3 separate regions of the Homo sapiens genome follow, and all the other regions are linked to region 2. Evidence: promoter capture Hi-C in 16 types of primary human blood cells and fetal thymus (Javierre and others, 2016). All regions are on one chromosome and are shown on one strand. Each heading gives the region's core, a stretch centred on a gene start or on the middle of the fragment in contact. The rest is flanking DNA. Distances are from core to core; before and after follow the strand shown.

Region 1 (4,137 bases), core at 1,638-4,137, 240 kb after region 2:
AAGGTCTAGGAGACATAGGCTAGGGCTTCTTGGTAAAGGTTCAAACTCAACTCTTCAGTCCCCAAAGCCTTCCACATTAGTGTTGCAAGCTAGGGTCAGGAATGCCCAGAATCATAACAGTATTATTATTGCTTATTTTGATGATTCCTTTTTAAAGATAAAGAACGTAGGGCCCAGGGAGTTCAAGCTACTTACCAAAGGCAATAGCTGACAAGTGACGCAGCTGGATCAGAATCTAGGTGACTGACTTCAAATTCCACTGCATTTAGGCAGAAAATCAGAAGGTGACTCTGGGAAAGAAGCATTTACTCTAAGGGCTTTGTGTGGCTTGACAGAGGAGTGGCAGGAAGATGTTCATCTGTTTGCCTCAGAATGAAGCTGCTTGGTGTCAGAACCAGTGTACGGGGAGGCATCCTGCTCACACAGCCTTGCGGAGAAGCAGGAGAAGGCCCCTTGTTTAGGGTTGGCACCAAAGATAAAATACAAGGAGTGAAGAGAGAAGCCCTTCTGCCTTCTCTGCTTTCTGGATAACTTGACATCTTTAGGAACAATCCTAAATCTTGGGCCATGCTGGGGTGGAGCACCCAGTGACAGAGACAGAGCAGTACACCAGAGTGCTGAAGGGTCCCTGTTTTGTTTTCCCCTTGAGCCACATTCTGAGTAGAACTGATGTACTCTCTGTGACTGTTTAATAGATGACAACAAAGACAGAAATAATCCCGAATTAGTAGATGACCTAAAATTCATGGCTAGTGGTTTTGGGGTATAGCTGAATCCACCCCCATCATGCACACAAAATGTTCCTCCATGCTAATCCCTCCCTCCATCCCAGCCCTGGAAAGCTGCCTGTGGGCTGGGGCCCAGCTAAGGTATCAAAGGGAGGGAGTCACAGAAAATACAGATGGACAGCTCATTGGCTCACTCATTCATTCATCAGACTTTTTTTGAGCACCAACTAGGCACTATGCTAGGTACTGGGAATTCAAAGTTAAAAGAAAAAGTCTCTGTCATCCATTCATTCTGGGTCGGATGGAGAACACATGGAAACAGGTTCACAATACACTACAGTGTGGGGAGACCTATGGACTGGTGTGCCAGTGGCAACGGAATAGAATTGCACCCAACCAGGGCATCACGGAAGGCCTCATGGAGGAAGGGACTCTGCACTGGTTAAGTTGGAGCTAGCTAGGGAAAAAGGAGGATGGATGGGGGAGGGTTTTTCAGGTCAGAGGAGAGGCTCAGGCAAAGACTCAGAGACAAAAGAACACGTGGGACATCTGGGGGAAGTGTGGGACTGTTTGGCCGAGCTTGGGAGTCAGATAGGTGTTAGGCAAGGGCAGAAAGAAATGAGCCCCTGGATGCCATGTAAGAGTTTGAATTTGACCTTGACTTTGAAGGACGATAGGCAGAGGAACGTCATAATTGGAGTAGTGTGTTATAAAGTTGCCATATGGAGAGTCTGGGACATTCAACAGTCCTTATGGCCAATTCTAACCATCCATGAGATCAGCTGTGCTTAAGGCAAGCAAATGCAATGGCCCAATGCTTTAATGGGAGGCTGCTGATAGACATGGTGAGGCGGGGGACCTGGACCCACCTCTGCCAGGCTCTGCAAGTGCAGGCACAGTCTCTGTACCAGGCTGATCCCAGCCAAGCCCTGAGTCAGTGTTCTTGCTTTGGTTCCTTTTCCTCTAGTTCCAGGAGCTGCAGCTAGCAGCCGGCCGGCATGGGGATGACCTGAAACACACCAAAAATGAGATCTCAGAGCTGACCCGTCTCATCCAAAGACTGCGCTCGGAGATTGAGAGTGTGAAGAAGCAGGTGAAGGGGACTGGAGCCTTCCTTACTCACTCCTAAGGGAGGGGTGAACTGCTTAGCACCCCCTGCCCCCTCCTTCTCTTGAGCATCCATTTCAGAATCCCCTTCTTCAAATGGAGGTCCTGCTCTCATCCCTCACCCTTAGCTCCCATCTGAAGTTTGGAACAATTGCAGATTATTTTCATAAAGCTGTGGGGCCCAGCGTAGCAAGCCTCTCAGTCTCAGGTTGACAGGACTCCACCTGGATGTGGCTGGGTCTCTGCTCCAGGACATGGGGCAGGACAGAGGAGGGCTCAACCATTGAGAGCATGGGAGAGGTGAAGCGAGGCCCAGGGAGGAACTCAGGGAGAAATGCTACCTCCTGACCCCAGTGTGCCAACCTGGAGACGGCCATCGCTGACGCCGAGCAGCGGGGGGACTGTGCCCTCAAGGATGCCAGGGCCAAGCTGGATGAGCTGGAGGGCGCCCTGCAGCAGGCCAAGGAGGAGCTGGCACGGATGCTGCGCGAGTACCAAGAGCTTTTGAGCGTGAAGCTGTCCCTGGATATTGAGATCGCCACCTACCGCAAGCTGCTGGAGGGCGAGGAGTGCAGGTGGGTGGGACCGAGGGACTGGAAGAAACTGCAAGTCTCCACCTTAAAGTTTCCCAGAGTGTGGTTGGGGGCGGGGGGGAGGGGGCGGCGAGCTGGCGATGTGTTTACTTCACCCACAAGCATAGTTTCAAACAGCATCCTGCCAGATAATGTGACAGCAATTTCCTTTACAGTTCTCTTTTGACTCTTTGGAGAAAGTCTTAGCTGGGTGCTGTTGTGTCTTTAACACCTCTCAGATGGCCAGGCGCAGTGGTTCGTGCCTGTAATCCCAGCACTTTGGGAGGCTGAGGCGGGTGGATCACCTGAGGTCAGGAGTTTGAGACCAGCCTGGCCAACATTGGAGAAACCTCGTCTCTACTAAAAATACAAAAGTTAGCTGGATGTGGTGGTGCATGCCTGTAATCTTAGCTACTTGGGAGGCTGAGTCAGGAGAATCGCTTGAACCCAGGAGGCTGAGGTTGCAGTGAGCTGAGATCCTGCTACTGTCCTCCAGCTTGGGTGACAGAATGAGACTCCATCTCAAAAACAAACAAACAAACAAACAAACAAACAGACAAAACACAAAAACACCTCTCAGACACTTACAAATATCCCCTATTGATAAAGAGACAGTAGATCTCAGGTGCAGCATCTCTGGGAAAATAATAGCATTATTTAGCCCAAAAGTTTTAAATTGTTTTCTTTTCATTATATTTATTTTTACTGCTACTTTTTTTCTTATTTGGTTAGGTAATAATACTGGTTTCTATTTACCCTGGTGATAAAAAACTTCTTTTTAAAAGAAATGCACTTTTGTCGTAAAAGGCAGAGTCAATTAAAAATACTAAATATCTAACAGTACAAGTCAAACATGGTCCTAGCAACAGTCAGAAGGGTGGCACACGAAGCATGAACATTTGAAAAACCCTGTTCTAACCAAGCACCATTTTATAACTGAGACCTGGAGAGAAGTCACTTGCCCCAAAATCATACAGTTCGTTCATTAGTAGCAACTCCTGATCCTGATCTTTCCACATATGTATTTATTCAGACAGCTGCTCACAGTAGTAAAGAAATGGGTTCAAGAGAAACCCTGCAGGAGGGACCTTGGGGGTGGTAATGTTGTTGGGGGTTCCAAAGTTGCAGGTTCCACATCTCTGCAGTGGGAAGAGTAGATTGAGGAGCGAGAGGGAGGGCTTAGAGACATGCAAGGGCAGCCAGTGCCATCTGGCAAGTGTGGGGTGCGTGAAGGCTGAGCTGGTCTGGCTGGGGATCCCCAGCCTGTGTTTAGGCAGTGAGGGCCACTATGGGAGTCCACGTGATTCAGACTCTCCTGTGCTTTTCTCTCTTGCAGGATGTCCGGAGAATATACCAACTCCGTGAGCATTTGTGAGTATTTCATGACTCTGAGGGAATACTTTTAGTCCATCAACAAACACAAAGTGGGTGGGTGTCCACCGCCCAGCCCCCTGAGGAAGAGCTTGGCTCTGCCTGTTGACCACTTGGTCACATACTCACCTTCCTTGCTGAGACCTGCGGCCTCCCCATTCAGAGCTACTTCTTCCAGGTGGAGCTAGTGCCCAGGACATTCTGATACTGCACACTAGCCTCTTTCATAGCAATCTCCTGCCTGCTGTGGTGAAACTCTCAGCCCCTCCCCTCTTCTGTCACCCCCACACCGGCTCTCCTGCATGAAGGAAACTGAGCACAGAGTGGTGCCTCCTCAATGGGAGTGGAGACTGGTGTGT
Region 2 (4,326 bases), core at 1-2,500:
TTACAGGTGCCTGCCACCACGCCTGGCTAATTTTTTGTATTTTTAAGAGACGGGGTTTTACCGTGTTAGCCAGGATGGTCTCGATCTCCTGACTTCGTGATCCACCCGCCTAGGCCTCCCAAAGTGCTGGGATTACAAGCGTGAGCCACCGTTCCCAGCTTAGGAGTATTTTCTAAATGCACCTTGCTTTTTTTTTTGAGATGGAGTCTCACTCTGTTGCCCAGGCTGGAGTGCAGTGGTACGATCTTGGCTCACTGCTCAACCTCTGCCTCCTGGGTTCAAGCAATTCTCCTGCCTCAGCCTCATATGTAGCTGGGATTACAGGTGTGCACCATCACACCTGGCCAATTTTTGTATTTTTAGTAGAGATGGGGTTTCACCATGTTGGTCAGGCTGGTCTCAAACTCCTGACCTCCAGTGACCCACCCACCTCGGTCTTCCAAAGTGCTGGGATTACAGGCGTGAGCCACTGTGCCCGGCCCTAAATGCACATTTCATTTCAGAGCCTGGGTGGCTCTGATTTGTAACCTCAGGAAGCGGAGCCTGATGGCAGGTGGATGGGCCTGGCCCCAAGTGCTTGTGGAAGGAGCAGAGCCACAGGCTGGGTCAGAAACGTGCTGTCCCATGCGATCCTGGATGGAGATGCCTGATTTCAGTGGGTGGTGCCTCATGGATGATTGCTGGGTTGGGCAAGAGGAAGGACTTGGAAACCCTGTTTTTCTGTTTCATTTCCAAATCCTGGAGTGTCTTTTAGCCAACTATGGCAATAACACCTCCACTAACCTCCTCTCTTTGTGGCGCTGCAAGTGCCTTCCTTCTCCAACTCCTTGAGGCAGATTCTCCCTTGAGAATCCAGGGCACTCTGATGCTTCCTCTGAACCCCTTCTAGCGTTCTTTCCTCTTCAACCTCCTCTCGCTTCCCTGTCTCCTTCAGGAAGCCTTCCCTGAGGGCCTCAGTGACTTTGCTCCGGCCATCCCTCCCTGTCCCTCAGCACTGACATCCCAGTCTCCTGCCTGCTTCCTTGTCTTTGGGCATGCCTATTTCTCCAACAGCCTGGGAGCTCTGAGGGCAGGGTCTGGGTTTCCTTCTCCCTTGGCTCTGCACGTGCCGGACACTTATTCTCCAGGCACGTCAGAGTAAGTCAGCTGGAGCCAAGTGACAGACACAGTCAGGTCAAGAGTATCTTGCTCTCCAAGGCCCAGCCCAGGTACGGGAGTGGATAAAAGTCTCGTGCTGGGGCCCCAGGGCAGAAACTCACACACCTTGACAATCTGTCTGTCCGTCTGCAGCTGCGTGACTGTCTGTCTCTGCCATGTCTCTCTCCCCATGCCGGGCCCAGAGGGGCTTCAGCGCTCGCTCAGCCTGTTCTGCTCGCTCAAGGGGCCGCAGCAGGGGAGGCTTCAGCAGCAGGGGCGGCTTCAGCAGCAGGAGCCTTAATTCCTTTGGGGGGTGCCTGGAAGGCTCTCGTGGGAGTACCTGGGGGTCAGGGGGTAGGCTGGGGGTGCGGTTTGGGGAGTGGAGTGGTGGGCCTGGGCTCTCCCTGTGCCCTCCGGGGGGCATCCAAGAAGTGACCATCAACCAGAATCTGCTGACCCCACTGAAGATTGAGATCGATCCCCAGTTCCAGGTGGTGCGGACGCAGGAGACCCAGGAGATCAGAACCCTCAACAACCAGTTTGCTTCCTTCATTGACAAGGTGAGGGTCAACTCAGCCAAGCCCCTGTCTCTGTGCCTCCCTTGGAGGAGCTGCTCTTGATGGACTTGGAAATGGGAAGTTTGGCCTCCTTCTACCACTTTTCTAATAACTTCTGCAGCAAAGAAGTCCCTCCTGTGGACTAACTGGACTCTCTCTGGCTATGCTGAGGCCCTGTTGTTCCATGATTGGGGCTCAGGGACAGAGAACTGCCAGCCAGCGGGGGGAAGGCCCTGCCCCATTAGTCAGTCCAGTCATTTTGTTGTGTTCAGAGTGTCATGGAAGGTCATGAGGCTTCCCCTGCCCAGGTTGGGCAGGGGGACAGGGGAAAGGTGAGGCTGATGGGAGGGTCCCTCAGGCTTTACTTTCCAGAGGCTGTGCACAGGGAGTCCCACAGGAGCCTCAGGGATCCTCTGCTTTTGCTGCAGGTGCGGTTCCTGGAGCAGCAGAACAAGGTCCTGGAGACGAAGTGGCATCTGCTGCAGCAACAGGGGTTGAGTGGCAGCCAGCAGGGCCTGGAGCCTGTCTTTGAGGCCTGCCTGGATCAGCTCAGGAAGCAGCTGGAGCAGCTCCAGGGAGAACGAGGGGCTCTGGATGCTGAGTTGAAGGCCTGCCGGGACCAGGAGGAGGAGTATAAGTCCAAGTAGGCACACTGAAATTTCCCCATGCCATGTGGGCGGGGTCTGGGATGACTCAGTTTGGGTCTGTCAGCCAGGAGGTGTCCCACATACTGAGCACCCAGAGGCACATGACTGGCCTCCCCTCTACCCCTCCGCGTCCCCATTCCCCAGGCTCTCAGGTGCCCACCTGCTACAGGTAAACGAGGTGTCCCGCAGTCCCCAAGCAGATCTGGAGAACCTTGGAGGAAAGGCAGGGAGACCGGTGTCCTACATGCCCCAGCTACAAGGGCCCATGTTTCCGGTCAAGGCTGGGAAGGGCTTATTTAAACAATGCCCCAGTGGCTTTTTTTATTCTTGAGAAATTCCTGTTCAGCGGGCTGTGGGCTAAAGTGATTCAGATGTTCTCTGGTTCCAAAGAGGGAAGGGAATCAATTTAGTGGGGCTGTCCCCAGGCCTGTGACACAATTCACAGATGGGCTGTGGTTCTGGGCTCCACGCCTAGGTCACCTGGTGGAGTGGAGAGAGCCCTGGACTAATAGGGGGCTTGGGTTGGGGCAACTGTGAGTGAGGGGTAGCTGTGCATCCTGGGCAAGGCATCTCATCTCTCCCGGACTTGGTTTCCCTTCTGTAAACTTGGGAAATGTCACCTGCCCTTCTGGCCTCCCAGGGCTATTGGGATAATGGGATGTGAGGTGGAGGAAGGAAGGTTCTGGAAGGAGCCCTGGATTGGGGTCAGAAGACCTGGGCTGGCTCTGCTTTGTCTACCTAGTCATCTGTGGGGTCTTGGTCAAATCATCTAATCTCTCTGATAAAACCCAAACTGCCTACCTCAAGTGATGGGTGTGAGTAGCAAGTGGGAAAAGGTATTCGAATGTGCCTTATAAACTGAAACAATGTGGCTGTCGTCATCAAAAGGACATGGGCTGAAAGGGTGGCACAGGTACATAGCTAGGACGTGGCAGGAAAGGAGAGAAGGGCTGGTTATTGTCTTGTTTGGGGGCATTCTAAGGCAAGGAGTCCTTTTCAGGGAGGTCATGCTCGGACATGGGGGCATGAGCTCTGACCGTGGAGCCTCAAACTGCATCCTTCTCTACTTATTTGGCAGGTATGAGGAGGAGGCCCACAGGCGTGCCACACTTGAGAACGACTTTGTGGTCCTCAAGAAGGTGAGGGTGGGGGCCAGTGCTCCACTTACGTTCTGAGCATCCACTGTGCACGGAGCCTAGTCCTAGGCTGGGAGGGAAAAGGTGGGAGGTCCTGATTTAGGACAGGCTATCACTCTACCTGCAGGGGTCCCCTGGGAAAATGGGACATCTGCCTAGACACAGGGGCCCCAAGGCAAGATCTGACTAAAGGACTGCTTGACGAGCTCTTGATGTCACTGCAGGAGAGGGCGGGGAGGGAGAGGAAGAAGCAGAACTGGTTGTGATTAATCAGGGAAGACTTCCTGAAGGTGATGTTGGGTCAATGTTGGGCAAAGGAGAGAGCAGGACAGAGTGGGGCTGGAGGAGGAAGGAGGGGGTCTTGGGAGGCATGGTGGATGGGTGTTGAGCAGTGCATGAACAGAATTCCTGAGCCAGAGTAGGGACCCCAAAGAGGAAGAGGGGGTTACGTGTTCTCTCTCCCCTTGTCTCCAGGATGTGGATGGGGTTTTCCTGAGCAAGATGGAGTTGGAGGGCAAGCTGGAGGCTCTGAGAGAGTACCTCTACTTCTTGAAGCATCTGAATGAAGAAGTGAGGCTCAACCAAAGGGCAGGCTGCAGCCAAGAGAGAGGACTGGGTGGGCAGGCTTCCTGTGGCCATGAGGAGAATGGCCAAGAGGGGAAGTCTGTTAGGGTGGCTTAGATTCTGGGTCATTCAGTCACTTGACAACCAATTACTGAAAACTTACTATGTGAATTGCTAGGTCCTGGGGATACATCAATGAATAACCAGAAAAAAATCACTACAGATAAAAAAATTGCTTTTTTTTTTTTTTGAGATGGAATCTTGCTCAGTTGCCCAGGCTGGAGT
Region 3 (4,411 bases), core at 972-3,471, 140 kb after region 2:
TCTCTCTCCCTTCCTTTTTCCAGCCCCACGCCCCTGACACACCTCTGTGATATCCACCTCCAGACCCTGGGAAATGTAGGGTGAGGTGGGGGATAGAGCTTTGGGAGCTGCTCCTGCTGGTCATGCCAGCAGCTCTTCTGAACCCTGCTTCCCGCTGCTGTCTGGAACTGTGATCCAGGTGGCTGATAGTTGCTCTGGGCCTCACCTTCTTGGCAGCCCTGGGTTTCAGTAACTGGGAGATGGGCTGGGTGAGCTGCAGCCTTCAACTAACTTCCCACTTTCCTTTTAAGGTGGCAGGTGGGGAGAGGAGGAAGCGGGCACATCTCTCTCCAACGACCCCATCTCTTCTGCAATACATGTAGGTTCTGAAGTGGGAATGCGCGGGTTCAAATCTCCATTCCACTATTTTCATTAGTGTATTCTTTGACAAGATTCTCTTTCCAAGTCTCACTTTCTCCATTTGCAAAATGAACATAGTAAGAATATCTTCCTTATGATGTTGGTATTTAGATTTCACGAGACCTTCCATGTTATAGACAGCACAGTGCATGGTCCATGGAAATCACCTGGTGAAGTTCACTATTATGATAATGATTGTTACTCCTATCTGTGTCCTTAGACTGAATGGAATCTAAAGAGGCTGTTTCATTTGTCCTGTTTCCTCCAGGTCAGTGGTCTCCAAACTTGCTGCACATTAAAACCACCTTTTAAAAATTCTAAAGTCCAGACCATAGCCCCAGACCAATTAAACTCTACTCCTTAGGTGTGGGCCCAGGCACCAGCGATTTTGAAGCTTTCTAGGTGATTCCAGTGTGAGCCAGTTTAGAAACCGCTGCTCTCTGCAGTCTAACCAGCTGAGGAGTTTCTTTTAGGGGTAGTGATTCGTCCTAGGAACATTATTTACCCACTAATATTGATCTGAGTTGAAACACTTCCTTTGAGACAAGCAAAATCTCTCGTGCTTCACTTTAAGTCATTTTTTTTTCTTCTGAGGAAGTAGAGCATAGCTATCACCCTCCACCAAAAGCTCAGTTAGTGGGTGTGTCCCTCCTCCCCTCCCAAGCCCTTCAAGGGATGACAACAGCCCAGCAGGGGCCATCAGCTGACGGGAGGTAGATGACAATGTTGGCATTGAATGCTGAAAGCTGATCATAGACAGAGATCAAAGAAGCTTCCTAAACTCTGCTGTCCGGGACTTCCTTTTTTATGTTATCACAATGGAATATTTTCACATTCAGCATGACAGTATATAGAAACCTGGGCGAGTGCTGAACAAATTCCACTCAAAGACATTGCTGGAGCCCTCTGTGACCGAAGCCAAACTCAGGCCTCAGGGTTTCCCAGTTGCTCCCTCGAGGCAAGGGGGCCTCTTCATGGCTCCCCCATCCCACCCCCTCACATGCCCGTTCCTTTCTCTAGGCCTTGGCACGAGCAGTTTCTCTGGTCCTTCCCAGTCCCAGTCCCTACAACAGAGCACCCTCTCACTGGCCTACAGTACATCCTTCGAGGTTAGCTTGAGCTTGCCTTTGCTTCTGTGAAGCCTTTTCCAGCTGCCTGTCTTTCTAAAAACTCTCATCGCATTCATAGGTCTCAATGCTGTAGCCACAGCCACACAATAACACCTCTCGTAAGAGCAAGCCTTTTAAAATATTTGTTGTCTTCAAGTGCTCTATTTAAGGGTCAGATGAATAGCGTTCAGGGAACTCAGTGATTAGTTCAATCATAAAACTGGTACATGGGGGGAGCTGGGCTTTAACTCCAGGGGCACTTAATTGTGGGGCCCAAGCTCTTGGTTCTCTAAGCTGTCCACGTCTCTTTACTTTAGCTCAGTCATGAAGGCCTTTGTTATTGGCCCACTCTGCCCAGCAGTTGCAGGAAGAAAGGGGCTCCTGGTCCATGAAGTCTTGTCCCAACAGCAAGGAGCTTCCTGTTTGTTTAGGTGGCAGTAGAGACAGATGCGAAGGGGTTAATTATGTGTATTCTTCATGAGGAGGAGGTGGGGTTGAAAGTGAGTGGTGCAGCCGGAGAGAGAGGTGGGTTCACAGGGAGGGGTTGGGGAACAGAACCTCACTTGTGTGACTCCTTGGGGCTTGCAAAGTGCTCTTCCATATTTGTTCATAGCCATTCATTACTATCACTCTACAAAGCTGTTATTTTATATATATATATATTTTGAGACAGAGTCTCCCTCTGTTGCCCAGGCTGGAGCACAGTGGCGCCATCTCGGCTCACTGCAACCCCTACCTCCCAGGTTCAAGCGATTCTCCTGCCTCAGCCTCCGAAGTAGCTGGGATTATATATTTTTGTGTTTTTAGTAGAGACGAGGTTTCACTATGTTGGCCAGGCTGGTCTCAAAACTCCTGACCTCAGGTGAGCCACCCACCTCTGCCTCCAAAAGTGCTGGGATTACAGGTGTGAGCCACTGTGCCCGCCTGGTTACTATTTTCTTTATTTTAGAGGTCAGGAAACTGAGGTTCAAGGAGTCAAGTGTCCCAGCCATGGGGCTAGGAGGGGGCGGAGCCAGGAGTCAGAGCTGGGTTTCAAGATGCCCAACTCAAGGATCTGTTCGCCACACCACTGCTGTTTCCTGTCTGGTACTTACTGTCCCTTCTCCTATCAGCCCCCATTTTCTCAGCCAGACCCCTACTTCTTCCCCCTGCTCTGTTCTTTCTGCCTCTCCTCTGATATCTGACTCAGAATCCTGGTCTTCAGGCAGCTTTCTCACATGAACCCACCCCTTTCCCTAGCTTCACCTCTCTTTCCTTCCTCTGCTTCTACTGGTTCTCTCCTTGTCACTCTGTGCTGGAGGCTAGGCCCTGGCTTCCCTCTCTTACCTTAGGGTTAGGAGTATGGCTGTGTGGACCATAGGTGCCTAGGACTAGGGTGACCAACTGTTCTGATTTGCCCAGGTATATCTTGGTTTAAGTACTGAAAATCCTAGGCAAAGCAGGACAGCTGTCATCCCACCAGGATCTGTGAGCAGCTATTTCTGCTTGTTTAGTGATTCCAGTGCTCTGCTTTTTTCTCCCCACATGACTTATATATAGCTTTGAATCCTTGAGAAATAGACACTTTGGTTCCTTAAGTGTCTGAGAGGCTCTAGGTTCCTTAAGTGTCTGAGGCTCTAGACACAACCAGCAAGCAGCAGAGCTTCTGCCTATAAATTTCAGGCTCATTGTCTCCTCTATCACACAGTGTCTCCTGGATGACCCACTGAACAGATACCATGTACGGAATGCAGAGGTTCATGAGAAGAGGGTGTGGAAGCTTGGAATTGCCCTTGGAGCATTTCCCTGTACCAGGATGACTTTTCACTGCGGCGCCCCCACAGTGCTCTTGTTTCTACCACCTGTTCTTCCCCACCTCTATTGGGATTTCTGCCACAACTTTCTTTTTTTTTTTGAGGTGGAGTTTCACTCTTGTTGCCCAGGCTAGAGTGCAATGGTGCAATCTCGGCTCACCACAACCTCTGCCTCTTGGGTTCAAGTGATTCTACTGCCTCAGCCTCCCAAGTGGCTGGGATTACAGATGTGCCACCATGCCCGGCTAATTTTTTGTATTTTTAGTAGAGATGGCATTCTCCATGTTGGTCAGGCTGGTCTCGAACTCCTAACCTCAGGTGATCCGCCTGCCTTGGCTTCCAAAAGTGCTGGGATTAAAGGCGTGAGCAAAAAATATTTATTGCAATGAACATAAAGAAAAAGGACATTTAAAACACCAGGAAAATTCAGCCGGGCACAGTAGCTCACGCCTGTAATCCCAGCACTTTGGGAGGCTGAGGCAGGTGGATCACCTGAGGTCAGGAGTTCTAGACCAGGCTGGCCAATATGGTGAAACCCTGTCTTTATTAAAAATACAAAAAATTAGCCAGGCGTGGTGGTAGGCACCTGCAATCCCAGTTACTCAGGAGGCTGAGACAGGAGAATCGCTTGAACCCAGGAGGCAGAGGTTGCAGCGAGCCAAGATTGTGCCACTGCACTCCAGCCAGGGCAACAGTGCAAGACTCTGTCTCAAAAAAATAAGCAAACAAACAAAAGAACCTAGGAAAACTCCTCCCACAGTCTCTAAATAAATCAACTCACTTTCTAGTTACTCACAAAGTCTGTCTTATCTGCATTTTTTTTTTTTTTTTTGAGAGAGGGTCTCATTCTCTTGCCCAGGCTGGAGTGCAGTGGCACGATAAGGGCTCACTGCAGCCTTGACCTCCCAGGCTCAAGTGATCCTCCTACCTCAGCCCCCCTGACCCGTGGGAGCTGGGACTACAGGAGTGTGCTACCACACCTGGTTAATTTTTTGTATTTTCAGTAGAGATGGGGTTTCGCCATATTGGCCAGGCTGGTTTTGAACTCCTGGGCTCAAGTGATCTGCTTGCCTTGGCCTCCCACAGTGCTGGGATTACAGGAGTGAGCTA

What was found. The method cuts DNA at HindIII sites, captures the fragments that hold promoters and counts their contacts. A CHiCAGO score of 5 or more calls a contact.
Region 1: a contact is called between a fragment that was not itself captured here and the fragment with the promoter of KRT78 in region 2, in 2 of 17 cell types (naive CD4 T cells and erythroblasts). The highest score is 6.6, in naive CD4 T cells.
Region 3: a fragment that was not itself captured here is called in contact with the fragment with the promoter of KRT78 in region 2 in 1 of 17 cell types (naive CD4 T cells); the score reaches 5.0 in naive CD4 T cells.

What each region holds. Positions count from the first base shown.
Region 1 is chr12:52,608,888-52,613,024 of GRCh38, reverse strand. It overlaps KRT73 (keratin 73), which reads left to right. Exons shown (of 9, transcript NM_175068.3): 6 at 1,696-1,821; 7 at 2,190-2,410; 8 at 3,744-3,778. KRT73-AS1 (KRT73 antisense RNA 1) reads right to left here and starts at 3,174. Exons shown (of 3, transcript NR_126005.1): 1 at 1,598-3,174; 2 at 196-684. The HindIII fragment of the contact is 7,675 bases long and covers 1-4,137 here.
Region 2 is chr12:52,845,918-52,850,243 of GRCh38, reverse strand. KRT78 (keratin 78) reads left to right here and starts at 1,250. Exons shown (of 9, transcript NM_173352.4): 1 at 1,250-1,697; 2 at 2,123-2,337; 3 at 3,420-3,480; 4 at 3,952-4,047. The coding sequence starts at 1,314. The HindIII fragment of the contact is 13,226 bases long and covers 1-4,326 here.
Region 3 is chr12:52,704,886-52,709,296 of GRCh38, reverse strand. No RefSeq gene overlaps it. Among named protein-coding and RNA genes, the nearest start is that of KRT77, 3.6 kb to the right of the region's middle. The HindIII fragment of the contact is 2,096 bases long and covers 1,174-3,269 here.